6 separate regions of the Homo sapiens genome follow, and regions 2, 3, 4, 5 and 6 are each linked to region 1. The links are contacts of gene promoters, found by promoter capture Hi-C in blood cells and fetal thymus (Javierre and others, 2016). All regions are on one chromosome and are shown on one strand. Each heading gives the region's core, a stretch centred on a gene start or on the middle of the fragment in contact. The rest is flanking DNA. Distances are from core to core; before and after follow the strand shown.

The links. Contacts are between HindIII fragments. The CHiCAGO score rates a contact against its expected background, and 5 or more counts as called.
Region 2: the fragment with the promoter of YY1AP1 here is called in contact with the fragment with the promoter of FDPS in region 1 in 1 of 17 cell types (endothelial precursors); the score reaches 5.1 in endothelial precursors.
Region 3: a fragment that was not itself captured here is called in contact with the fragment with the promoter of FDPS in region 1 in 1 of 17 cell types (endothelial precursors); the score reaches 7.0 in endothelial precursors.
Region 4: a fragment that was not itself captured here is called in contact with the fragment with the promoter of FDPS in region 1 in 1 of 17 cell types (endothelial precursors); the score reaches 5.4 in endothelial precursors.
Region 5: a fragment that was not itself captured here is called in contact with the fragment with the promoter of FDPS in region 1 in 1 of 17 cell types (endothelial precursors); the score reaches 5.0 in endothelial precursors.
Region 6: a fragment that was not itself captured here is called in contact with the fragment with the promoter of FDPS in region 1 in 1 of 17 cell types (endothelial precursors); the score reaches 5.2 in endothelial precursors.

Annotation. Positions count from the first base shown.
Region 1 is chr1:155,307,247-155,311,091 of GRCh38, forward strand. It overlaps FDPS (farnesyl diphosphate synthase), which reads left to right and starts at 1,620. Exons shown (of 11, transcript NM_002004.4): 1 at 1,620-1,719; 2 at 2,543-2,719; 3 at 2,797-2,959. The coding sequence starts at 2,544. It also overlaps a transcript of PKLR not described here. RefSeq lists enhancers at 378-447, 1,350-1,479, 1,810-1,979. The HindIII fragment of the contact is 5,584 bases long and covers 1-3,064 here.
Region 2 is chr1:155,686,383-155,690,129 of GRCh38, forward strand. It overlaps YY1AP1 (YY1 associated protein 1), which reads right to left and starts at 2,392. Exons shown (of 11, transcript NM_139119.3): 1 at 2,277-2,392; 2 at 1,689-1,819. DAP3 (death associated protein 3) reads left to right here and starts at 2,709. Exons shown (of 13, transcript NM_004632.4): 1 at 2,709-2,792. It also overlaps the pseudogene LOC124904430. RefSeq lists enhancers at 1,798-2,432, 2,808-2,857 and a silencer at 2,268-2,317. The HindIII fragment of the contact is 12,603 bases long and covers 1-3,747 here.
Region 3 is chr1:155,638,175-155,642,377 of GRCh38, forward strand. It overlaps the pseudogene LOC100419798. Among named protein-coding and RNA genes, the nearest start is that of MSTO1, 30 kb to the left of the region's middle. The HindIII fragment of the contact is 688 bases long and covers 1,525-2,212 here.
Region 4 is chr1:155,606,514-155,610,685 of GRCh38, forward strand. MSTO1 (misato mitochondrial distribution and morphology regulator 1) reads left to right here and starts at 3,705. Exons shown (of 14, transcript NM_018116.4): 1 at 3,705-3,819; 2 at 3,912-4,047. The coding sequence starts at 3,736. It overlaps LOC105371452 (a long non-coding RNA gene), which reads right to left. Exons shown (of 2, transcript XR_922171.2): 2 at 3,096-3,379. RefSeq lists enhancers at 2,692-3,566, 3,567-4,172. The HindIII fragment of the contact is 2,982 bases long and covers 1,419-4,172 here.
Region 5 is chr1:155,713,860-155,717,888 of GRCh38, forward strand. It overlaps DAP3 (death associated protein 3), which reads left to right. Exons shown (of 13, transcript NM_004632.4): 3 at 3,147-3,269. Among named protein-coding and RNA genes, the nearest start is that of DAP3, 27 kb to the left of the region's middle. The HindIII fragment of the contact is 2,846 bases long and covers 513-3,358 here.
Region 6 is chr1:155,660,791-155,665,068 of GRCh38, forward strand. It overlaps YY1AP1 (YY1 associated protein 1), which reads right to left. Exons shown (of 11, transcript NM_139119.3): 10 at 517-633; 11 at 1-123. Among named protein-coding and RNA genes, the nearest start is that of YY1AP1, 26 kb to the right of the region's middle. The HindIII fragment of the contact is 3,778 bases long and covers 1-3,417 here.

The DNA.
Region 1 (3,845 bases), core at 370-2,869:
AACCTGGACACCCTCCACCGGTGACAGTACCTTATATACACGGAATCATACAGTATCTGTCCTTTTGAGTCTGGCTTATTTCACTTAGCATAATTGTCAGAGGTGCGTGAACCAGAGCAACTCCATCTTGAATAGGGACTGGGTAGAATAAGGCTGAGACCTACTGGACTGCATTTCCAGTTGGTTTAGGCATTCTAAGTCACAGGATGAGATAGGAGATTGGCTCAAGATACAGGTCATAAAGACCTTGCTGATAAAACAGATTGCAGTAAAGAAACTGGCCAAAACCTACCAAAACCAAGATGGCAACAAGAGTGACCTCTGGTGGTCTTCAACGCTATACTCCTACCACATGCTGTGTCGACATCAGGGAGTTAACTGTATATGGTCTACAAAGCAGAGGCATGAATAATCCAACCCTTGTTTAGCTTATAATCAATAAATAACTGCCTGGGCCAAGTGGCTCGTACTTGTAATCCCAGCACTTTCAGAGGTCGAGGTGGCTGGATCACTTGAGGTCAGGAGTTCGAGACCAGGCTGGCCAATCTGGAGAAACCCCCTCTCTACTAAAAACACAAAAATTAGCTGGGCATGCTGGCAGGCACCTGTAATCCAGGAGAATCACTTGAACCCGGGAAGCGAGGTTGCAGCCTCCCACGTAGCTGGAATTAAGGCGCGGACCAGCACACCTGGGTAATTTTTGTATTTTTAGTAGAGAAGGGGTTTTGCCATGTTGACCAGGCTGGTCTCAGATTCCTGACCGCAGGTGATCCGCCCAAAGTGCTGGAATTACAAGTGTGAGACTCATCTTTTTTTTTTTTTTTTTTTGAGACGGAGTCTTGCTCTGTCTCCCCAGCTAGAGTGCAGTGGTTCGCTGGATCTCAGCTCACTGCAACCTCTGCCTTACGAGTTCAAGCGATTCTCCCGCCTCAGCCCTCCTGAGTGGCTGGGATTACAGGCGCGCGCCACCACGCCCGACTAATTTTTTTTTTTTGTATTTTTAGTAGAGACGGGGTTTCACCACATTGGTCAGGCTGGTCTCGAACTCCTGACCTCATGATCCACCCGCCTCGGCCTCCCAAAGTGCTGGGATTACAGGCGTGAGCCACCGTGCCCGGCCCAAGACTCATCTTTCTTAAGCCCTTAAAGCACTTTGCACACATTACCTCATGGTATTACCACCCTCATTCAACAGATGAGGAAAGCTAGTTTCAAGCAAGTTCACTGAGGATCAGAGACGTTAAATGATTTGCCTAAAGTTAGAGAACTAATAAGTGAGAAAGCTAGTCCTGCTGCGTTTTACTAACGTGCCAATCAGCTGCCCAGGAAGATAATGAAAACTTGAGTAAGACAGGCAGCCAAAGCCACAGCGGGGACGTTCCCAGCCTGGCTCGCTTCCGGCACTGACGCCTCCAGCCGCGACCTCTAGACTTCAGCCCTTCCATTGGTCGTCCGTCACAGTGCCACAGTGCGCCATGCTCACACGACGGCCAGCAGCCAATCAGCGCGGCTCATCTTCGCCCAGCCAGGACACGCAGGATCGCGTTATCTGTCCCTCCCGCGGGCACATTGGGAGTTGTAGTCTAATTATATATTTCCGCCCTTAGTGTGGGGAGAGCGGGAACTACTCGACCCACAGAGCCGATCGCGGAGCGGATTCTGCTTTTAGGAGTACCCGCCAACAAGCGGGACCGAGCAGGAATCCGTATCTGGGAACAGGTGAGAGAGGATGTGTGCTGGGCCTTGGAGGAAGGGGGCCGAGACCGGGCCTTACTTCTGTAACGATACTGTGAGGCATCGGAAGGCCAGCCTGTTGTGTCCGTTTTGAAGGTCGGTGGGCTAGACTGGCTGGCCTTCTAGGGGTGTGGAGACTTCCCAACTCTGCCCTTGTGCTTTCCTGGAATCCCCAATATGCCCGGACCCCGGTTTACTCCTTTGCTGCGAGCCCTTCTCTCCCGTCCAGAGTTGCTCCGAGCCTATCTGCTCAGTCCTAGCGATTCCTGTGGGGCTTGGGACGCGCGGTTCAAGCACCCCGGACCATATGGATGCAGCACCCATGGGTTCTCGCTCCAATGCTTCTTTCCTCCTTGGGGCGTAACTCAGACCCTGGGCACCCCTCTCCACTGCCCAGGGGAGACCTGGGTTCTAGATTTGGCTCTGCCTCTACTATCTTCCTACCTCCTAGAGCCTCAGTTTGGCTTGTGTAAAATAGGATGACTTAAGGGTCCTTTCAGCCCCTAATCCTGGGGTACTTTACTCTGTACCGCCTCCTTACCCAGCCTTGTGCACGCCATCTTGAAGGCACTGAGTTCTAGCCTGTTTATTGTAAGTGGTGATTAGTTGGGTCTCAGTCACCCAGCCATACTTTTTTGTTCCCTGCGTATCCTTCCTGTAATTGTCCCCAAGCACATTCCACAAGAGGGAGGGGCACTCTGGGCTAAGGCTGGGGTGGGAGTTATCTGGGGAGCTGCCACCATGCCTCTGCCTTTGGTGCTTGCCCCTGCAGGGAGTGCTTAGTGCCCCCTCCCTATGCCACTCCCAGGATGCCCCTGTCCCGCTGGTTGAGATCTGTGGGGGTCTTCCTGCTGCCAGCCCCCTACTGGGCACCCCGGGAGAGGTGGCTGGGTTCCCTACGGCGGCCCTCCCTGGTGCACGGGTACCCAGTCCTGGCCTGGCACAGTGCCCGCTGCTGGTGCCAAGCGTGGACAGAGGAACCTCGGTGAGTGTGGTTGGGGTGAGGGGCCTTGGGGAGGGGAGCAGCTGATCAGGTTTCTGACTTGTTTTTCTTCTACTTAGAGCCCTTTGCTCCTCCCTCAGAATGAACGGAGACCAGAATTCAGATGTTTATGCCCAAGAAAAGCAGGATTTCGTTCAGCACTTCTCCCAGATCGTTAGGGTGCTGACTGAGGATGAGATGGGGCACCCAGAGATAGGAGATGCTATTGCCCGGCTCAAGGAGGTGAGGGATTCATGACTTGGGGGAGTAAGGCTTTGGTTCAGTTGCTCTGTACCTGTGTGGCATTCACCTGTGGCTTATGGGGGACTTTTGACAGATGTGAGAGAAAGCTTTTTTTTTTTTTTTGAGACAGAGCCTTGCTCTGTCACCTGGGCTGGAGTGCGATGGTGTGATCTCGGCTTGCTGCAACCTCCACCTCCTGGGTTCAAGTGATTCTCCTGCCTCAGCCTTCTGAGTAGCTGGGATTACAGGTGCGTGCCACCACATCCAGCAAACTTTTGTATTTTTAATAGAGACGGGGTTTCACTGTGTTGACCAGGCTGGTCTCGAACTCCTGACCTCAGGTGATCCACCCACCTCGGCCTCCCAAAGTGCTGGGATTACAGGTGTGAGCCACCGCGCCTGGCCGAGAAAGCTTTTACCTGAGGGACTCGAGTCTGCTCTGGAGAGGTTGGGGCCTGGGCAAGTATACTTACTCAGTCCATCAACCGGACTTTTGGCTCTGATGGAAGGTGGGTCATCCAAACTGCTTTGCTTTGGGGGTGGAGGCCTTGAACCTGGCAAGTCTTAGATTTTGTGTCCTGAAATCAGAAGCTGTTAGGTTGGCAGAGACCGGGGAAGAAGGCAGTCTGATATTGTCCTATCTCCCTGGGGCCTGAGTGAAGTTATTGTATCATTAGAAACCCCTATTCTAGAACATGAACTATTGCTGTGATACTTGCCAATTTTTTTCCTGTTGATTCTGGAGTATCTATTAAAATTCTTTTTATAAATGCTGTCTATCTCATATATCTCAGGGGAATGAAGGGAAAGGGGGGCTTTGCCTATACTGGAATGGGGATTAAAAGAGTCTTGGCCCGGCATGGTGGCTCACGCCTGTAATCCCAGG
Region 2 (3,747 bases), core at 1,142-3,641, 380 kb after region 1:
AGCCCAGCCAAGAAGTTCCAACATCCACAGGCACATATATTAACAATTACCAGTACCCAAAAACAGTTCTCTGGTTTTAATTCCACACTGCCTCCCTCAACTTAATACCTACCACCGTCAAAACAACTCCCCTCAGATTGCATCCAGGCTATTTACAGAGACACCTTGATGATCCTCACCTCAAGGCATGGACCATTCATTGAATGGTTATATTTGTTGAATGAGTGAAAAAGGATCCTTCCTCCCACAGATTTCAAGTTAAGCTGTCAGCACCCATGCAGCTGCTCTGGTACAAGTTAAGCTGTGAAAGCCTTCTCCCTCACGCATACAACCTTAAGTGTCAGAAATGCTCTGCTTCCTCCATAAATCCAAAATAATATAGCCATGGATATGCATTTCATACAGGTCAGACTCGGCAAGGACAGCTACGTTCCACATACATATCTGACACAATCGGTCTCCCCCAAATACAAGCCAACCAGTCTTATGTGCTCCTATCTTTCCAGCATACTCAGATTTGCCGACAAAGACTTCCTGAGGCACCATGGTATGCTGAATATACTGCTGCAGTAGTAGTGAAAATATGGGAGTTACAGTTCCAACTTTGTCACCAATTTAACATGCGGCCTTGGAGAAGTTCTCTCCTTATGCCTAAATTTCCTATTTTGTAAAATGGAAGAAAGCATCCTACCATTTTCACAGAGATTCAGTATCACAAAGAAACTGAAAGAGCTTTCTTATTGTATTGTAAACTATTACTATAAACCCGCGACAACAAATAAGGCCACCCATTCTTTACAGCTTTGTAGCAATGATTCTGTTAAAGATATTTTGGCCCTTCACATTTACACAACTCACTCTAACCAAAGGCACAAACTATTCTTAAGACCACAACTGGCTATGCCAAGTTTCTCCCCTCCCTGACCTCACAGACACATGCTGTACAGAACACTACCATTGCCGCTCTTTCCCAACAAGTAACTAGGGGCTCCCAATCCCTAAAATACACACACATATCAACCTGCAAGGAACCTCCCAACATTTATTCAAGAAATAAGCTAACTTATAAGGGGAACTCCATTACACTTACACAAATAAAGGCAAACTCTTACGGAAACACTTGCCATCCTCACATACACACACCAACACAGCCGCTACACACCAACAGACCATCTGTCTGCTAGACCAAAAACATCTCTTTCCATGTACAAACTAACCAGTGACATTTATTAAACGTACAACACTGAGATCATCCTGTCGTTCCCACATACCGTTCAACGCGGCAGGGACACCACAGACCTTGTCACACAGGTAAAATCCCCTCTCAAGATCGTGTCCTCGACCACTCTTATCCCTTAATTAAACACACACAAACTGGACTATGGGGGAGGCTCCGATCATGCCTACAAACACAAACTAACCTGTCAGGGGCACAGCCGACTCCGCCTCCACTCGCTTACTTCCCAGCCCCCTCCGGGAGTCTGCCTGTCAGGGACACCCCTTCACCCCGCCTGGAGGGACTTCCCGGTAGGCTCAGGATCCCCCTCCCTGCTCTCCCCTCCCCCATCTTCACCACTGCTCTCCCAGAGGTCCAGGTCCGGGAGATGACAGTGGCTCCCAGAAAGCCCAGGATTCAATCGCTGAGAGAGTGCTTAGGCCCGAATGCCGGCCCAAATCGTTCTACTCACCGTGTCGGAGGCCGAGAGCGATGAGAGTACAGGGAAGTGAGGAAGAGGGGGTGGCCGCCAGGCTCCTCCGCTTCCCTGGGTCCACCGCGGATCCCTCCCGCTTGTCAGGAGGCGGCCAGCGGGTAAGCCGACTGGCGGAAATGCGAGAGAGGAGAAGGGAAAGGTGGAGGGCTAAAGGGGCAAACTGAGAGGAGGCGGATCCCGCAACCGACACTGGGATCGTTTCCCCTCGCAAAGCGAACCCAAAATGGCGGCGGCAGCGGCGGCAGCAGAGTGGCCGCGGCAGCTCCTCCAGAGGGAGGGAGCTAAGGGCGCCTAGCGACACCCCCAACCTCCCACTCCTCCCTCCTCGCGTTCTTCCCCACGGTCCCCCGCTTCGCCCGACTCCGGCCATGTAGCGCGCACGTCAGCCCGCACGCGTACGAGTGTCTACGGGCTCGTCGCTGGCTGCTCCCACCAACCACCACCTTCGGCCGTCCTGCGAGCCAGCCATCCCGTACGCGCTCACCCACGGGAACCTCCTCGCCCAGTTCTCCACTCCCCCTCAGACCCTGTCAAGCCGGCTCCAGCGCAGGCCCTCACGCGTACCTTCAGCGGCGCGAGCCCAAGCCTTCTCCACCTCCTCTTCTCTCCTCCCCCTCCCTCCCCGCCCGCACGGCCACCAACCGCCGCCAAAGCAGCCGCCGCCAGCACCCCCACCCTACACTCCTCGCGCGTGCGCCTCCCACAGTCCCCACCGCGGGACTGTTCCATTCCTGGCGGCTGCAGGGGCAGGAGAGGAAGGGACCGGCAAAGCGAGTCTGGCTTGCCGTTTGACTGGAATTGCCAGGGTGGCCGGCCGAGTCCCATGACAACCTACCTCCCTGGGTTCGTCGCCGCGGCGCTGCGGCTCGCCTCCTCCTCCATGGGACCGCGGCGAGGGGATCGAGGGCGGCCTAGCGCCCCTCTGCCGGCCGGTGGTTGGAGGCCGCGGCGGCTGCGCGTTGAGTCGTTTCCTGCCGGATGACCCGACCCTTTTTTGCAGTCTCAGGACGGGCGCTTTGGAGCCGGCCCCAGGCAGCGTGTGTCGGTCGCCTAGTCTGGAGAACTAGTCCTCGACTCACGGTGAGGGAATGGACCGACACGGGTATTGTACCGCTGAGGGAAAGGAGCGGGACTCCGGACCTCCAGGAGGTAGGGAGTGAGGCCGGTAGACCGGCGCGCCTCCGGGGGGGATTCCTCCCGGGCGTTGAGTTGCCAACCTGGGACCCGAGGAAGTTCGGCGTGGTGGTGTGCTTTTTGTTGTTGTTAACCCTCCTCGGATTTCTCGAATTTCACACCACTGTCCATATGCGATGATGTTTGTTTGCCCTTGACGCACTTACTCATGGATGGTACTTCAGCCTCGTTAGACAGCCTGGTGATGGAGGATGAAGAAACCATGTGCTTCTCATTCAGTTCTGGACTCAGTTTCCCTTGTCTTCAGCAAGTTATTTTTGTTAGTTCCTTATCAAAAAGTGTACATAAAAATTAGGCAACTCCAAACATGCCTCCAGGGTTGGTGTGTGAAATAATAAGATAGGGCTGGGCGCGGTGGCTCACGCCTGTAATCCCAGCACTTTGGGAGGCCGAGGCAGGTGGATGACAAGGTGAAGAGATCGAGACAATCCTGGCCAACATGGTGAAACCCCGTCTCTACTAAAAATACAAATATTAGCCGGCCGTGGTGGCGGGCGCCTGTAGCCCCAGCTACTCGGGAGGCTGAGGCAGGAGAATTGCTTGAACCCGGGCGGCGGAAGTTGCAGTGAGCCGAGATCGCGCCACTGCACTCCAGCCTGGCGACAAAGCGAGACTCCGTCACACACACACACACACACACGAAATAATAATATATGTAAAGTGGAATTAGCTCCTAGGCATAGGGAAGGTGCAGAGTATTGCCGTGTTGTCATTTACAGTTCTGTTGATGTCGATAACGTTTGTGGGTGTAATGGGTAGTGTTCTGTCCCTCCAAGTCGTTAATAAAACAAAGCAGGCCGGGCGTCTTGTTAAATAGTTGTATCAATGACTTGATTTAGAT
Region 3 (4,203 bases), core at 619-3,118, 330 kb after region 1:
CAACCTCTGCCTCCAGGGTTAAAGCGATTCTCCTGCCTCAGCCTCCCAAGTAGCTGGGATTACAGGCATGTGCAATGACGCCCAGCTAATTTTTTGTATTTTTAGTAGAGATGGGGTTTCTCCATGTTGGTCAGGCTGCTCTTGAACTCCCAACCTCAGGTGATCCACCCTCCTTGACCTCCCAAAGTGCTGGGATTACAGGCGTGAGCCACCATGCCTGGCCATGTGCTTTTATTTCAGTGCTCCATTTTCAGAAAAACCCTTTTGAATTTAGTCAATATGTTCACAGTTTCCTTTTGGAAGATTAATTTTTACAGTCTTTCCACATTTGCTTAAACTTTTTGTTTTATTTTATCTAATTTAAGACAATCCTGTATCCCTAGGCAAAATGTGCATTTCCATGCCTTCTTATAATCTTTGACTAAAAAGATACTTTACTGTTCTTGCACACCTTGCATGTAAATCTATTTTCAGTAGTCTAAATTACATGTTATAACAGTAACTCTTAGCAATTTTCAACTTCAATGTAAAACCTGGTAAAGTTGTTTTAATTATGTGCTAGGTGCAGATAAAGTCTGACTCCTTCCAGCATAGTTAGGGGAATGGTTACTTCCATATGTCCCCAGGTCTTACCAATTGTGAAGCAGGCAAGTTTAAAGGCCAAAGAAGAAGTTTACAACCTTAAAACATTCAGCAAACCTAGTATCTGACCTGCATAATTTAGACCATATATTTACATCTTGAAGACATCTACACTTTACCAATAATTTTTAAGGCTGTTTTTATTTTTCAAAAATTAAAGTCACATGAACTGAAAGGTACCACAACCTTCATTATCCCTTTAAAAAATATTTAATCCAAGCACTTACCCTTCAAGTCAATTAATTAGAGGTCTTTTTTAACAGACATCACACACATAACCCATATAGGACTATATAGATAGAAGAAGATCCAGCAGCTCAGGATGGAGCTATTTAGGAATAGGGCCAGAAAAGCATGTAGTTTTTGGAGCCTAATAAACATGCACAGTTGGAAGACAAAAACAGATTTTAAAAGGGATTCCAGGGATTCCATGTGGAAAACAGATTTTTTTCCTAAATGGGATTTCTGGCATCTTGTCTGTTTTCCCAAGGAGTCCCAGGCCACCAGAAGTCATCCTAGGGCCTTTCATCCATGCACCAAGAATGGCAAGACAGAGTGGGAAAAAGTAATTCAGTTGCCAGAGAAAAAAAGCCTTTTCCAGAAAAACAAGATTTATGGAGGGAAAAACATAAAGGCCTCTTGAATATACCTATAGGTTGGATACTCAGTTTCAATTAAGCCAAGTGCTCTTCATGAAAATTGTTTTTCATTAATCAAAACTTTACAGAGAATATAAACAGTGATCCTTATCATTTCTTTTACTGGTTTGTACCACTACCTGTTCACAATCATGTTCAGGTTCCCCAATTTCCTCTGGGAGAAAGTGGCTGGGTTTAGGCAAGGGCAGGTTTTCAACTGGACTGCAGATTCCTCTAGCAGCAAAGCTTGATTTTTGATGAGGCGATTTTTCTGTTAGCCAGAGACTTCCCTTAGAGGACAGCAGTCCTGCTATACTGTGTGGGGTGCAAACAGTTAAGTTATTCCCCATGTTTAACCCAGTGGTTTCTGCCACCAGCAAAGCCACTGCTGCAACTGCTTGGAGGCAGGCTGGCCATCCTTTAGCCACGAGGCGAAGTTCCTTGCTTAGGTAACCTACTGGCTGTTGAGTTGGACCTTTAGCCTTAGTTAAAACTCCCAGGGCCAGCCAGGCATGGTGGCTCACTCCTGTAATCCCAGCACTTTGGAAGGCCAAAGCGGGTGGATCACAAGGTCAGGAGATCGAGACCATCCTGGCTAACACAGTGAAACCCCGTCTCTACTAAAAATACAAAAAATTAGCTGGGCATGGTGGCGGGTGCCTGTTGTCCTGGCTACTCGGGAGGCTGAGGCAGGAGAATGGCGTGAACCCAGGAGGTGGAGCTTGCATTGAGCCGAGATCGTGCCACTGCACTCCAGCCTGGACGACAGAGCGAGACTATGTCTCAAAAAAAAAAAAAAAAAAAAAAAAAAGACACACACACAAAAAAACAAAAACAAAAAAACTCCCAGGGCCATTCCCTTCCTTTGTGATACATAGAAACTAAATGCCCTCCCTATGGGAAGACTGAGGGATGGATGGTGTATTAAATAAAGCTTGCTTTAACTGGTTAAAGGCTTTTGAGTTTTAGGTTCCCAAGTTAGGGAGTGAGTTTTAGCTGCTTGAGTTTCTTTTGTGAGGTGGTATAAAGGGCAAGCTATTTCACCATACCCAGGCACTCACAGTCTGCAAAATCCAGTAATGCCTAAGAATACCCTTAACTGTTAAAGGAAATGGGCTTAATCCTTTCCTTACCTGGTGCTCTGTTCCCTTCTGATAAGACCAGACCCAGATACTTTACTGAAGTTTGACAAAGCTGAGCTTTAGATTTTGAGACCCTATATTCCCTTTCAGCTATGAAATTGAAGAGAGCCTTAGTACCTTCCTGAGACCTCCTTGGTTGGGGCACAGAGGAGAGTGTCTTTACATACTACAAAGTTTCAACTTGAGGGTGACAAAAACTAGAATGATCTTTGGACAGGGCCTGTTTCAGCAACTTGCGTCTGCTATCAGGTGCTGCCTGAGTAATGAACCTGTTCTTTATTGAATTGAGAGACAGGGAGGTGTGTTTCACTAAAGCTTTTTTCAGCCTTTCCAAAAAGGCTGAGAGATTTTCATTTGGTTTCTGATTCAACAAGGACAGTTTACAGTAATTAAGAGTTTTGGTTCTGATTCTTTGCAAGCCTTTTAATATGCACATCAGAAAGTGTTTTCTTTTCCACTTGTCTATGGGATCACCAGGACTCCAATTAGAGGTTTTTTTCTTTTTCGGAGTTTTGCTCTTGTTACCCAGGCTGGAGTGCAATGGCCCAATCTCGGCTCACCGCAACCTCCATCTTCTGGGTTCAAGTGATTCTCCTGCCTCAGCCTCCCGAGTAGCTGGGATTACAGGCATGCGCCACCATGCCCAGCTAATTTTGTATTTTTAGTAGAGACGGGGTCTCTCCATGTTGGTCAGGCTGGTCTCAAACTCTCAACTTCAGGCGATCCACCCGCCTCGGCCTCCCAAAGTGCTGAAATTACAGGTGTGAGCCACCACGCCCAGCCCCAATTAGGGTTTTTAAGGGGCATAGTTTCTCTTCCTGTTGGGAAAGGGGATTCTGTCTCTTTTTTACCATGTTTCCCCTTTTGACTGGGTTTTTCTTTTGACTGGTTATAGGAGACATGCTGTTCATCTCTGAATATCCCTGCTGTCTGTAGGGCTTCTTGTTTCTCTGCAACAGTTAGGGTTTGGCATAAAAGTAGCATAGCATCTCCCCATGTAAGATCAAACACTTGGATTAGATTTTAGAAAGCCTCTATATATCTATGAAGGTCATCAGAGAACTTGCCTAGCTATCCCTTTATTTGTCTAAGGTCCTGCAATGAGAAGGGAACTTGAAACCTAGTAGCACCATGTCCATTCAGCATTTCCTGCAAAGGCAACAGCGAAGTTGGCAGCTTTTTGGGTAGCATAGCTGGAGGGGCTGATGATATGGCTATTGGGGGCCCTGGATACAGGAGGCAGTTAGGGCACTGAGAAGTTGCATTAGAGGGTTCCTCAAGGGTTTGCCTCTCTGACTTTGGGGAATTATATTCTGTAGACTTGCCTGATATGACTGCCAAGAGGGAAGGGTTAATTTTACAACACTTACAAAGATGGGGGTTGTCTCACTGGGAAAAATAAGATCTAGTTGTTGGATAGTATTGAAATTAATGCTTCCCTGAGGAGGTTAGACCTCCTGTCTGTAAGAGGGCCTTGCCCTTGTGCAATAGAATATAAGCTGTTTTTTCTTCAGAGTCTCACAATCAAAGGAGTTCCAGTGTTTCAGAATGCACTTGAGGAGAGTGCAGACTTCAGATGGTTTGTTATCGGGGGAACCCACCGCCAATATTTCAACGTAGGTTCTTTCTATTTTCCATAAGTGTCAGCCAGCTGAGAAATAAAGAGAAAGAGTACAAACAGAGGAATTTTACAGCTGGGCCTCTGGGGGTGACATAACATTTCTGTAGGACAGCGATGTCCACCTGAGCGCAAAAACCAGCAGGTTTTTATTAAGGACTTC
Region 4 (4,172 bases), core at 1,660-4,159, 300 kb after region 1:
CCTCCCGAGGAGCTGGGACCACAGGCGCGTGCCACCACTGCCAGCTAATTTTTGTATTTTTAATAGAGATGGGGTTTCACCATGTTGGCCAGGTTGTTCTCAAATCCTGACCTCAGGTGATCGCCTGCCTCAGCCTCCCAAAGTGCTGGGATTACAGGTGTGAGCCATCGTACCCAGCCTTTTTTTTTGTAGCAACAAGATCTCACTATGTTACCCAGGCTTGTTTTGACCTCCTGGGCTCAAGTGATCCACCTGCCTCAGCCTTCCAAAGTGCTGGGATTACAGGCATGAGCCACTGCAGCCGGCCCAGATCCAATATTTTATATTTATTTATTTTTTGAGACAGAGTCTCCATCTGTCGCACAGGCTGGAGTGCAGTGGCCCCATCTTGGCTCACTGCAACCTTTGCCTGTCGGGTTCAAGCAATTATCCTGCCTCAGACTCCTGAGTAGTTGAGATTACAGGCACGCGCCACCTCGTCCTGCTAATTTTGTGTTTTTAGTAGAGATGGGGTTTCACCATGTTTGCCAGGCTGGTCTCGAACTTCTGACCTCGTGATCCGCCCGCCTTGGCCTCCCAAAGTGCTGGGATTACAGGTGTGAGCCACCACACCCAGCCAGATCCAATATTTTAAAAGGATAATCAACATAAATGAATTTAGGTTTTTTGTTTGTTTGTTTGAGTTGGAGTCTTTCTCTGTCACCAGGCTGGAGTGCTATGGCGCGATCTTGGCTCACTGCAACCTCCGACTCCCTGGTTCAAGAGATTCTCCTGCCTCAGCCTCTCAAGTAGCTGGGATTACAGGCACGTGCCACCACGCCCAGATAATTTTTGTATTTTTAGTAGAGACAGGGTTTTCACTATGTTGGCCAGGATGGTCTCGAACTCCTGACCTTGTGATCCGCCTGCCTCGGCCTCCCAAAGTGCTAGTATTACAGGTCTGAGCCACCGCGCCTAGCCGAGTTTAGGTTTATTTGAGGAATGCAAGATAGTATTACATGATAATCTAACGATGTAATTTATTCATTAGCACAACAAAGGAAGGATAAAATAATGTAATTATCTTGGTTTGGAGAAAGCTGTAAAAAACATTCAAATCTATTCATGATCAAAACTCTTAGCAAATCAGGACAGAGAACTTCCTTAAACTGTCAGAGTATCTATAGAAACTTTTCAGCCCACATCATACTTAGAAAAGTGAAATAGTAGCCGGGCATATTGGCTCACGCCTGTAATCCCAATATTTTGGGAGGCCGAAGTGGGCAGATCGCTTGAGCTCAGGAGACCAGCCTGGGCAAGATGGTGAAACCCCTTCTGTACAAAAAATACAAAAATTAGCCGGGTGCAGTGGCCTATGCCTGTAATTGCAGCTACTTGGGAGGCTGAGGTGGGAGGATCGCTTCAGCCCAAGAGGTTGAAGCTTCAGTGAGCCGGGAGATTGCACCACTGCACTCCAGCCAGGGCAAAGAGAGTGAGACAGTCTCAAAATAAATAAACAAAACTAAATATAATACATGTGAAAATACAAAGAGCTCAGAAGAGATAAGAGCATCTAACCTTTATTTCTTGAAAAAATTTCAAACCTACAAGAATGCTCAGAGAGTACTGCAAAAGAACACCTATAATCTTCACCTAGATTCAATTAACATTTTGTCACTTTTTAAAATTTTGAGACAGGGTCTCCCTCTGTCTCTGGCTGCAGTGCAGTGCTCCAATCATGGTTCACCGCAGCCTCTAATTCCTGCGCTGAAGCGATCCTCTCACCCTAGCCTCTGGTTAGGACTACAGATGTGGGCTGCCTAGCTAATTTTTTGAAAAATTCTTTTATAGAGAGGATAGGGGGAGGGGGAGTCTCACTACATTGTCCAGTCTACCCTCACATTCTCGAATTTCTGGACTCAAGCGATCTTCCTGCCTCAGCCTCACCAAAACGTGGGAATACAGGCGTGAGCCTCTGCGCCCAACCAATATTTGCCTTATCTCTTTTTTTTTTTTTTTTTTTTTGAGATGGAGTCTGGCTCTGTTGCCCAAGGTGGAGTGCAGTGGCGCGATCTCGGCTCACCGCAAGCTCCGCCTCCCGGGTTCACGCCATTGTCCTGCCTCCGCCTCCCAAGTAGCTGGGACTACAGGTCGCGCCCGTCACCACGCCCGGCTAATTGTTAGTATTTTTAGTAGAGACGGGGTTTCACCGTGTTAGCCAGGATGGTCTCGATCTCCTGACCTCGTGATCCACCCGCCTCGGCCTCCCAAAGTGCTGGGATTACAGGCTTGAACCGCGGCGCCCGGCCTTTTTTATTTTTATTTTTATTTTTTTATTTTTTATTTTTTAGAGAGGAGTTTTGCTCTTGTTTCCCAGGCTGGAGTGCAGTGGCGTGATATCGGCTCACTGCAACTTCCACCTCCCAGGTTCAAATGATTCCCTGACTCAGCCTCCTGAGCAGCTGGGAGTACAAGGGCCCGCCACCACGCCCGGCTACATGTTTTGTATTTTTAGTAGAGACCGGGGTTTCATCATGTTAGCCAGGCTGGTCTCAACCTCCTGACCTCAGTTGATCCTCCTGCCTCGGCCTCCCAAAGTGTTGGGATTACAGGCGTAAACTACCGCACCCGGCCCTTGCCTTGTTTCTAAATACACACAAGAATGTTAATCATAGCACCTAATAGCCCAAAAATTGGAAACAATCCCAAAAGCTATTATCAGCAGTATATATATATATATATATATATATATTTTTTTTTTTTTTTTTTTTGAGACAGAGTCTCGCTCTGTCGCCCAGGATGGAGTGCATTGGCGTGATCTCGGCTCACTGCAAGCTCCGCCTCCCGGGTTCACGCCATTCGCCTGCCTCAGCCTCCCGAGTAGCTGGGACTACAGGCGCCCGCCACCACGCCCAGCTAATTTTTTTTTGTATTTTTAGTAGAGATGGGGTTTCACCGTGTTAGCCAGGATGGTCTCGATCTCTTGACCTCGTGATCTGCCCGCCTCAGCCTCCCAAAGTGCTGGGATTACAGGCGTGAACCACCGCGCCCAGCCTATTCTTTCTTTAGAATAGATCAGTGGTGGCGTATTCATACAATGGACTATTCCGCAGTGATGAAAATGAATTATAGATATTTGCAAAAATATGAATTACATAAACCATATTGAGCAAAAGACGCCAACAGATACATACTCTCTTTACATAAGGTGTTAGATACACAGAGATAGATAAATACGTGTAAATGATAGAGATATGATAGCTAAGCCAGTCCACAGGTTATTAGTCGTGGTCCACGTGACTTCTGAAGAGATGAAGGGGCATGGGAGGCTTTAGGGGAGCTTCCGCTTTTCTGGCAAGGTTTTCTTTTTGCCCGGGGAGCTATCAGCCAGCGGAGAGATCTGTGAGAAGGGATAAGACCTCAAGACAAGTAGGAAGCAGAGCCTTCCACGGCCCGCGCCCTGGCGGCCCCAAGTCAGCGGCGGAGACGGCGCCCACCCCGCTCCAACGTGGAGCAGGAGCAACGGCGTGGCCCGTGGAGCCCCGCCCCTCACAGGCAACCACAGAGAAGCCGGACTGGGCCACGTCTAGGAAGAGGTAGGAAGGGATCGGCGCATCGTTTCTCCAATGGGAAAGGATGTGTTTGCGGGCCAATAAGTAGCCGAGAATAACACCCGCCCACGCGCCTGCCAAGCCAATCGGCTAGGAGCAGCGAGCGGCGCGGCTGAGGCGCGGCGGCCCCGTGGAGCAGCGCAGTATGGCGGGCGGGGCCCGGGAGGTGCTCACACTGCAGTTGGGACATTTTGCCGGTTTCGTGGGCGCGCACTGGTGGAACCAGCAGGTGAGGTCAGCCGGCAGCTGCCCCCGAGGAGCCCTTCGGGATCTACAGTCCCGACGTTCAGCCGGCCTGCCTCGTCCTCTCTGCTTCCCCAGGATGCTGCGCTGGGCCGAGCGACCGATTCCAAGGAGCCCCCGGGAGAGCTGTGCCCCGACGTCCTGTATCGTACGGGCCGGACGCTGCACGGCCAGGAGACCTACACGCCGCGACTCATCCTCATGGATCTGAAGGGTGAGGTGGTGGCAGAGTTAGCCGATGCCCCTTATTTCCCTTCCGCGTGCCTAGTCCTTGCGCTGCCGTTATCTTCAAGACCCTCCCACCTTACCGAGCTCCAGGACCGGAGATGAGGAGCTGAG
Region 5 (4,029 bases), core at 686-3,185, 410 kb after region 1:
CATCTAATAGATACTCAGTTAACAGTAGGCATGAGTACAACTCAAGGCAGTGTAATAAAATTGCTGTGCAATACAAAGAGTGCTATTAGCAGAAAGGAAAGAGAATTACTTTTGACTGGAGGTGTCTGGCAAATTTTCACTGAGGATGTGACATTCGAGTTGAGGCTTGATGAATGGGAAAGATTTAAATGGGGAGAGAGGGAAGTTGAAGTAGAATGAGCAGAAGTATAGAGGCATAAAAGTGACATGTTTCAGCATGGTCATATGGTTATAAATGAAATTACAAAGGTAGGCTGAAGTCATCACAGTGGTCTAGATTGTTATGCTAAGGAATTTGAGACTTATTTTGACATCGTTCTGGAACCTTCTAAGCTTTTTAAAATTTTTTTATTGTCGGGGTCTCACTGTGCTTCCCTGGCTGATGTGGAACTCCTGCCCTCAAGCAGTCCTTCCACTTTAGTTCCCAACTAGCTGGGACTACAGGAGTGGACCACCACACCTGGCTCCATCCAAGCTTTTAGATTAGTCGAAGGTTAAACCTATTTTCGGGAAGGTTAAGGACTATGAACGATGAAAAAATCAAAGATTTAGAGATAAAGATACAAGTTAAAATGTTATGTGTTGGCTGGGCATAGTGGCTCACACCCATAATCCCAGCACTTTGGGAGGCTAAGGCGGGCAGATCACCTGAGGTCAGGAGTTCCAGACCAGCATGACCAACATGGTGAAACCCAGTCTCCACTAAAAATACAAAAATTAGTCAGGCGTGATGGCGGGCGCCTGTAATCCCAGCTACTGAGGCAGGAGAACCACTTGAACCTGGGGGCAGAGGTTGTAGTGAGCTGAGATCATGCCATTGCATCCCAGCCTGGGCGACAAGAGTGAGACTCCGTCTCAAAAAAAAAGAAAAACAAAAGTGATGGGTACAATACTGTCTCTCAACCTGTGTAGTGGGAATGTTAGACACATAATTTAGGATCATGTCATAAAATGGGTGTAAGTGTGAGGAGGGATGGTACAGAGATAACATATATTTTCTGCACTCAAAAAGCTGCTTGGTAGGCTGGGCACGGTGGCTCACGCCTGTAATCCCAGCACTTTGGGAGCCTGGGGTGGGAGGACCACCTGAGGTCAGGAGTTTGAGACCAGCCTGGCCAACATGGCAAAATCCTGTCTCTACTAAAAATAGAAAAATTAGCTGGGCATGGTGGCACACTCCTATAATCCCAGCTGCTCAGGAGGCTGTGTCAGGAGAATCACTTGAACCCAGGAGGCGGAGGTTGCAGAGAGCCAAGATTGTGCCACTGCACCCCAGCCTGGGCAACAGAGCAAGACTCCATCTCAAAAAAAAAAAAAAAACCCACAAAAAGCTGCTTGGTGAGCCAGGTACAGTGGCTCACACCTATCATCCCAGCACTTTGGGAGGCTGAGGCAGGAGGATCGCGTGAGTGCAGCAAGTTGGAGAGCAGCCTGGGCAACATAGCAAGACCCTGTCTACAAAAAATTAAAAAAATTAGCTGGGCATAGTGGCATGCACCTGTAGTCCCAGCTACTTGGGAGCCTGAGATGGGAGCATGGCTTGGGCCTGGGAGTTTGAGACTACAGTGTGCCGTGATCGTGCCACTGCACTCCAGCCTGGGTGACAGAGCAAGACCCTGTCTTAAAAAAAAGAGAGAGAGAGAGAGAGAGAAGCTGCTTGGTGAGACTATAAAATACTGGTAGCTTTCATATGATAACCTATTTATTAAGCAACTCCCTTATTACACTATCCATTATATTTCTGTTCTCTTGCTTCTCCTGGCTGCATTCCCTAATCTTTTCCTCATAACACATCTTTTCACTTTCTACATAAGGTTTGTTATCCTTAAGCTCAGTTTTGGGGTTTTTCACTTACCATTTTGTTAGATTTGTCTACCGAAATCCGCCCCCTTCCCCTCCCTGTTGGTTCAGAGGTTTCGGTGTACAGTTCACTGAGTTACCTATAGAGCAGTTTGCTTTCACTTAGCTGTGTATTTGACATACTCCCTTATTACATGTCTCTAATGAAAGATCCTTTATTCCAGGGCACAATTAGCAGGAAAATTGTTACAGGGCATGTAATTATAGCTGTCACATAGTGAGGAGCATTGCACTGATCCCCTGATAACTGAGGTGACTGACAGAGAATGAGAATTACACAGTTTTGACAACCATTCATCGCTGTGCAAGCGCATTAAAAGAGCTTTCCTGCTTCAAGTTTGCTAATGGCTATGCTATGTATGCTCCTGAATAATCTCTGACAGAATTGTTTGTTTCCGTATAGGACAGACCCCTGATAAGGCAATACACAGACTGGAACAGATACAGAATATGAATAATGTCATTGGACTTAGTGAATTTTAAATAATAACAGGGATCCTTTTTACATAGAAGAAAAATGTTGCCGGGCGCGGTGGCTCACGCCTGTAATCCCAGCACTTTGGGAGGCAGAGGCGGGCGGATCATGAGGTCATGAGATCGAGACCATCCTGGCTAACACAGTGAAACCCCTACTAAAAATACACCTCTACTAAAAATACAAAAAATTAGCCAGGCGTGGTGGCGGGTGCCTGTAGTCCCAGCTACTCGGGAGGCTGAGGCAGGAGAATGGCGTAAACCCAGGAGGCGGAGCTTGCAGTGAGCCGAGATCGCGCCACTGCACTCCAGCCTGGGCGACAGAGTGAGACTCCATCTCAAAAAAAAAAAGAAAAATGTATGTTAGTGACATCCCTATTGCAGACATGGCTCACCTTCTCAGTGTTTTGGCAAGCATAAAAAGTTTGATTAGCCAGGTGTGGTGGCTCAAGCCTGTAATCCCAGCATTTTGGGAGGCAGAGGCGGGCAGATCACCTGAGTTCAGGAGTTCAAGACCAGCCTGGCCCATATGGTGAAATCTTGTTTCTACTAAAAATATAAAAAATCAGCCGGGTGTGGTGGCGCACGCCTGTAATCCCAGTTACTCAGGAAGCTGAGGCAGGAGAATCACTTGAACCTGGAAGGCGGAGGTTGTAGTGAGCCTGAGATCACGCCATTGCACTCCAGCTTGGGCAACAAGAGAGAAACTCCATCTCAAAAAAAAAAAAAAAAAGTTTGATAACCCCGTAACACTGAAATGGTTTCTCTTATAGTTGGACCCTGGGCGTTTTTTACACATGGGGACCCAGGCTCGCCAAAGCATTGCTGCTCACCTAGATAACCAGGTTCCAGTTGAGAGTCCGAGAGCTATTTCCCGCACCAATGAGAATGACCCGGTGAGTTACTAATATGTATATGGGGTTTCTCAGGGCTTATGATTTGTGTTCCTGTCCTCATTTTGCATAGGAAAACTGAAACTGAAAGAAGCTTAGTAGATTTGCATTTACTCAGATAGTGCACCTGAGATAGCACTCTGGAACCCAGATTCTCCCTGTCCCTGTCTGATACTGTGGTAACATACACTGGCCAGCTCGGTCTGTATCAGTTCCCATGTAATCTCTACTAGTGAATTCACCTAGTTCCACGGATTTTGCTGAGCATAGAGTTGTCGAATACTCAATACTTACTAAGTTTAATTTCTTACTGGGCAAGTTTACCAATTATTATTGCTTATATTATGTGTTGGGTGACAGGCTTTTTCTTAAAGGACCATGTAGTGAATATTTCAGGCCGATGGACTGAGATGATCTGTCACAAGTACTCAACTCTGCCATAAACAAATGGGTGTGAACATGTTCCAGTAAAACTCTATTTACAAAACAGGTGCCCAGCCATAACTTAACAAACTCTGGTATGGAGAGTACTAAAGAAATTAAACTACTTGCCCACAATTTTCTACCAGGGCAGGTTCAGAACCCAATTTTTCTAATAACCAATCTGGTGCTATTTTGCAGTTTTGTAAGTGGATTTCCTAGGGTCTGGAGAGGGAACTAACTTGGTTTGTTGTGAGAAGAGCAGCATTTAAAGTGAATTTTGTCTGCAGAAGCCAGGATTCCAGCAGTATCTAGTGTTGCATTTTCTAGTCCAGTTCCCCAT
Region 6 (4,278 bases), core at 279-2,778, 350 kb after region 1:
CTCTGAGTTGTCTTTTTCTAGGCCTTGATCTGAGTTGATCTCAGTGGTTCCAGTCATATTTCCTACCTCTCTAGCACCATCAGCCATGTGCCGCAGTTCTTCCTGGATGGATGGCAGACTGGCCTATTGGAAATGAGAACACTCTGATCCAGCACATGTCAGAATTTGGGAAAAAGAATAGGACTTTCTAAGTTTAGGGACCTGAGACAAGCTCAAGGCATCTTTCCAAGGGACTCTGCATATGAAATTTCTACAAAGACCACAGTCCAATTATACACTTTAGAAACTCTTCTCTGAATTTCCTTTAGCAAATTACCATTTTACCCATTATTTTGAAAATGTTGTAGAATCACCCGGAGAAGGGCAGAAAAGTAAGGGAAGAAAGGTGAATCAGGAAGATTCCTGAAGTCCTAGTTCTACAACTAAAGCATTAGACGATTAAGGAAGTCCTTGATATTCTCTCAGAACTTTCAGTGACCTTCTGCCTCCTACAGACTTCGAGGAAGAGGGCTGTACCTTTAACCAGAATGGGAGCCGGTGTTCTTCTCTCTCTATAGGTGGCTTCCACTGATGTGGCTGGATCTCTTCACAGCATTTTCCTAGGACTGGCAGCTGTTTGGTCTTCTTATAAAACTTAACATGAAAAAAATGCGCATGAATTACATTCCTTCTGGAAACACTGTCTTCTGTCAGGCTGGTGAATGGGGTGGTGGTGGATCAAGAGAAACACACACACACACACACACACACACACACACACAAGACCACATACACAAACATCCATGAACACACATATACGAATAGCATATGCTGAATACTTGTACATTTCAAATTAAACTAATCTCTATTTAAAGATTTTATAGTTATTCAGTATTTTCTTTTTGAGACGGAGTCTTGCTCTGTCGCCCAGGATGGAGTGCAATGGCGCGATCTCCGCTCACTGCAAGCTCCACCTCCCAGGTTCACGCCATTCTCCTGCCTCAGCCTCCGGAGTAGCTGGGACTACAGGTGCCCGCCACCACACCCGGCTGATTTTTTTGTATTTTTAGTAGAGACAGGGTTTCACTGTGTTAGCCAGGATGGTCTCGATCTCCTGACCTCGTGATCCACCCGCCTCGGCCTCCCAAAGTGCTAGGATTACAGGCGTCAGCCACCGCGCCCAGCCCTATTCAATATTTTCTAACTGATGATCTCCATTCTGGTTGCCAGGAAGGGGAGAGTTTAGGTCACAGAGAGAAAAGGAAGCAGATGCTAAGAGCAATCTTATGTAAGATTTGTTCCTGCTCAACAGCTGCAAAGACAGCATCGTAATCTATAAAATGGACACATCAAAGACTTTAAGCAAATGATGGTGTGAAGGGCATCAGAAGGGAAGGAAAAAAAAAAAGACCGAGGCAGTTCAGTTTTAAGAGTAAATAGGCTGGCCTTGGTGGCTCACATCTGTAAACCCAGCACTTTGTGAGGCTGAGGCGGGCAGATCACTTGAGATTGAGAGTTTGAGACCAGCCTGGCCAACATGGTGAAACTCCATCTCTACTAAAAATACAAAAATTAGCTGGGTGTGGTGGTGGGTGCCTGTAATCCCAGTTACTTGGGAGGCTGGGGCAAAAGAATCGCTTGAACCTGGCAGTGGGGGTGGTAGGGTGGAGATTGCAGTGAGCCAAGATCATGCCACTGCACTCCAGCGTTGGTAACAGGGTGAGACTCCATCTCAAAAAAAAAAAAAGAAGATAAGAACTGAACTTAAACCATGACAATAAGCATCTGTTCATCCAACATGATGAACATAAGATGTTTTCTATATCCTAGGCACTGTGCTAAAAGCTAAGCACACACATAAGGGAAGCAATTCCTGCTCTCATGGAGCTTACAGACTAGTGGGAGAGTCAAGTGGACAAATGGCATCCTACATTAAAAAATGTACAAAGGGCTGGGCATGGTGGCTCATGCCTGTAATGCCAGCACTTTGGGAGAACGAGGAGGATGGATCACTGGAGGTCAGGAGTTCATGACCAGCCTGGCCAACATGGCGAAACCCTGTCTCTAATAAAGTACAAAAAAAAATTAGCTGGGTGTGGTGGTGCACGCCTGTGATCCTAGCTACTTGGCAGGCTGAGGCAGGAGAATCACTTGAACTGAGGAATTAAGAGGTTGCAGTGAGCCAAGACTGCACCACTGCACTCCAGCCTGGGCAACAGAGCAAGACTCCAACCCCGACACCCCGCCCCATCCCCCAACAAAAGTACAAAGGTGTGCACGAAAAATGACACAAAACTAAAACTTAAACACAAATTACTTCTGGCCAGGCGTGGTGGCTTATGCCTGTAATCCCAGCACTTTGGGAGGCCGAGGCAGGCAGATCACAAGGTCAGGAGATCAAGACCATCCTGGCCAACATGGTGAAACCCCATCTCTACTAAAAATACAAAAATTAGCTAAGTGTGGTGGCGCGTGCCTGTAATCTCAGCTACTCGGGAGGCTGAGGCACGAGAATCACTTGAACCCAGGAGGTGGAGAGTGCAGTGGGCCGACATCACGCCACTGCACTCCAGCCTGGCAACAGAGTGAGACTCCATCTCAAAAAAAAAAAAAAAAATTATTTCTGCAGAAGAATAAGGTTTATCACGTGTGCCTTAAAACCATGGATACGCCAGGCATGGTGGCCCACACCTGTAATCCCAGCACTCTGGGAGGCTGAGGTGGGTGGGTCACGAGGTCAGGAGTTTGAGACCAGCCTGACCAACAAGGTGAAACCCCGTCTCTACTAAAAATACAAAAATTAGCAGGGTGTGGTGGTGAGCGCCTGTAGTCCCAGCTCCTCGGGACGCTGAAACAGGACAATTGCTTGAACCTGGGAGGCAGAGGTTCCAGTGAGCCAAGATCACGCCATTGCACTCCAGCCTGGGCAATGGAGCGAGACTCTGTCTCAAAACAAACAAACAAACAAAAACAAAAAGAAAGTACTTTTTAAAAAACCATGGATAAAAATAGACAAATACTAAGGCATATTATCATGCATTTTCAAAATATTGAAGCCAAAGGAAAAATCCTGCATGCTGTCAGAGGTTGAGAAAAACAGGTGTTACACAAAGACTCAAGAGTTAAATGGGGCCATGGCTCATGCCTATAATCCCATTACTTTGGGAGGCCAAGACAGGACGAGCACTTGAGGCCAGGAGTTTGAGACCAGCCTGGCCAACATAACGAGACCATGTCTTAAAAAAAAAAAAAAAAAAAATTAGCTGGGCATAGTGGTGCACACCGGGTTGGAGACACCAGTGAGCCATGATTTAGCCACGCTCCAAACTGGGCAACAGGGTGGGACCCTGTCTCGGAAAAAAAAAAAAAAAGTTAAATGGCATGAAATTTCTTAACACCACACTAGGAGTTAGAAGAAAATGAAGTGAGGCCCTTAAAAGCTTCTTAAAAAAATTATTTCCTATCTAGAATTCTAGATACAGTGACAGAGGAGAGTATTATTTTTTCCTTTTATTTTGAAATAATTATATTCATAGGAAATTGCAAAAAATAGTACCAAGAGGTCCCATGTACCCTTCAACCAGTTTCTCCCAATATAATGTTTTTATGTTACATAGAAACAAGAGCTATACATATAAACAAGGTACACAGTACAATATTACTACCAGGAAACTGGCCAGACATGGAGGATGTGGTGGCTCATGCCTGTAATCCCAGCACTATGGGAGGCCAAGGTGGGCAGATCACTTGAGGTCAGGGGTTCGAGATCACCTGGCCAACATGGCAAAACCCCATCTCTACTAAAAATACAAAAATTAGCTGGGTGTGGTGGCTAATCCCAGCTACTCAGGAGGCTGAGGCAGGAGAATCGCTTGAACCCAGGAGGCAGAGGCTGCAGTGAGCAACAGTGAGACTCTGTCTCAAAAAAAGAAAAAAAATAAAACAAAAACAAAAACGAGGAAACTGACATCGATACAATCAAAAGACCATGAATGGAGATTTTTTTTTTTTTTTTTTTAATACGGAGTCTCGCTCTGTCACCCAGGCTGGAGTGTAGTGGCGAGATCTCGGCTCACTGCAAGCTCCACCTCCCAGGTTCACGCCATTCTCCTGCCTCAGCCTCCAGAGTACCTGGGACTACAGACGCCCGCCACCACACCCGGCTAATTTTTTTGTACTTTTAGTAGAGACGGGGTTTCACCACATTAGCCAGGATGGTCTCGATTTCCCGACCTCGTGATCCACCCGCCTCAGCCTCCCAAAGTGCTGGGATTACAGGCGTGAGCCACTGCGCCCGGC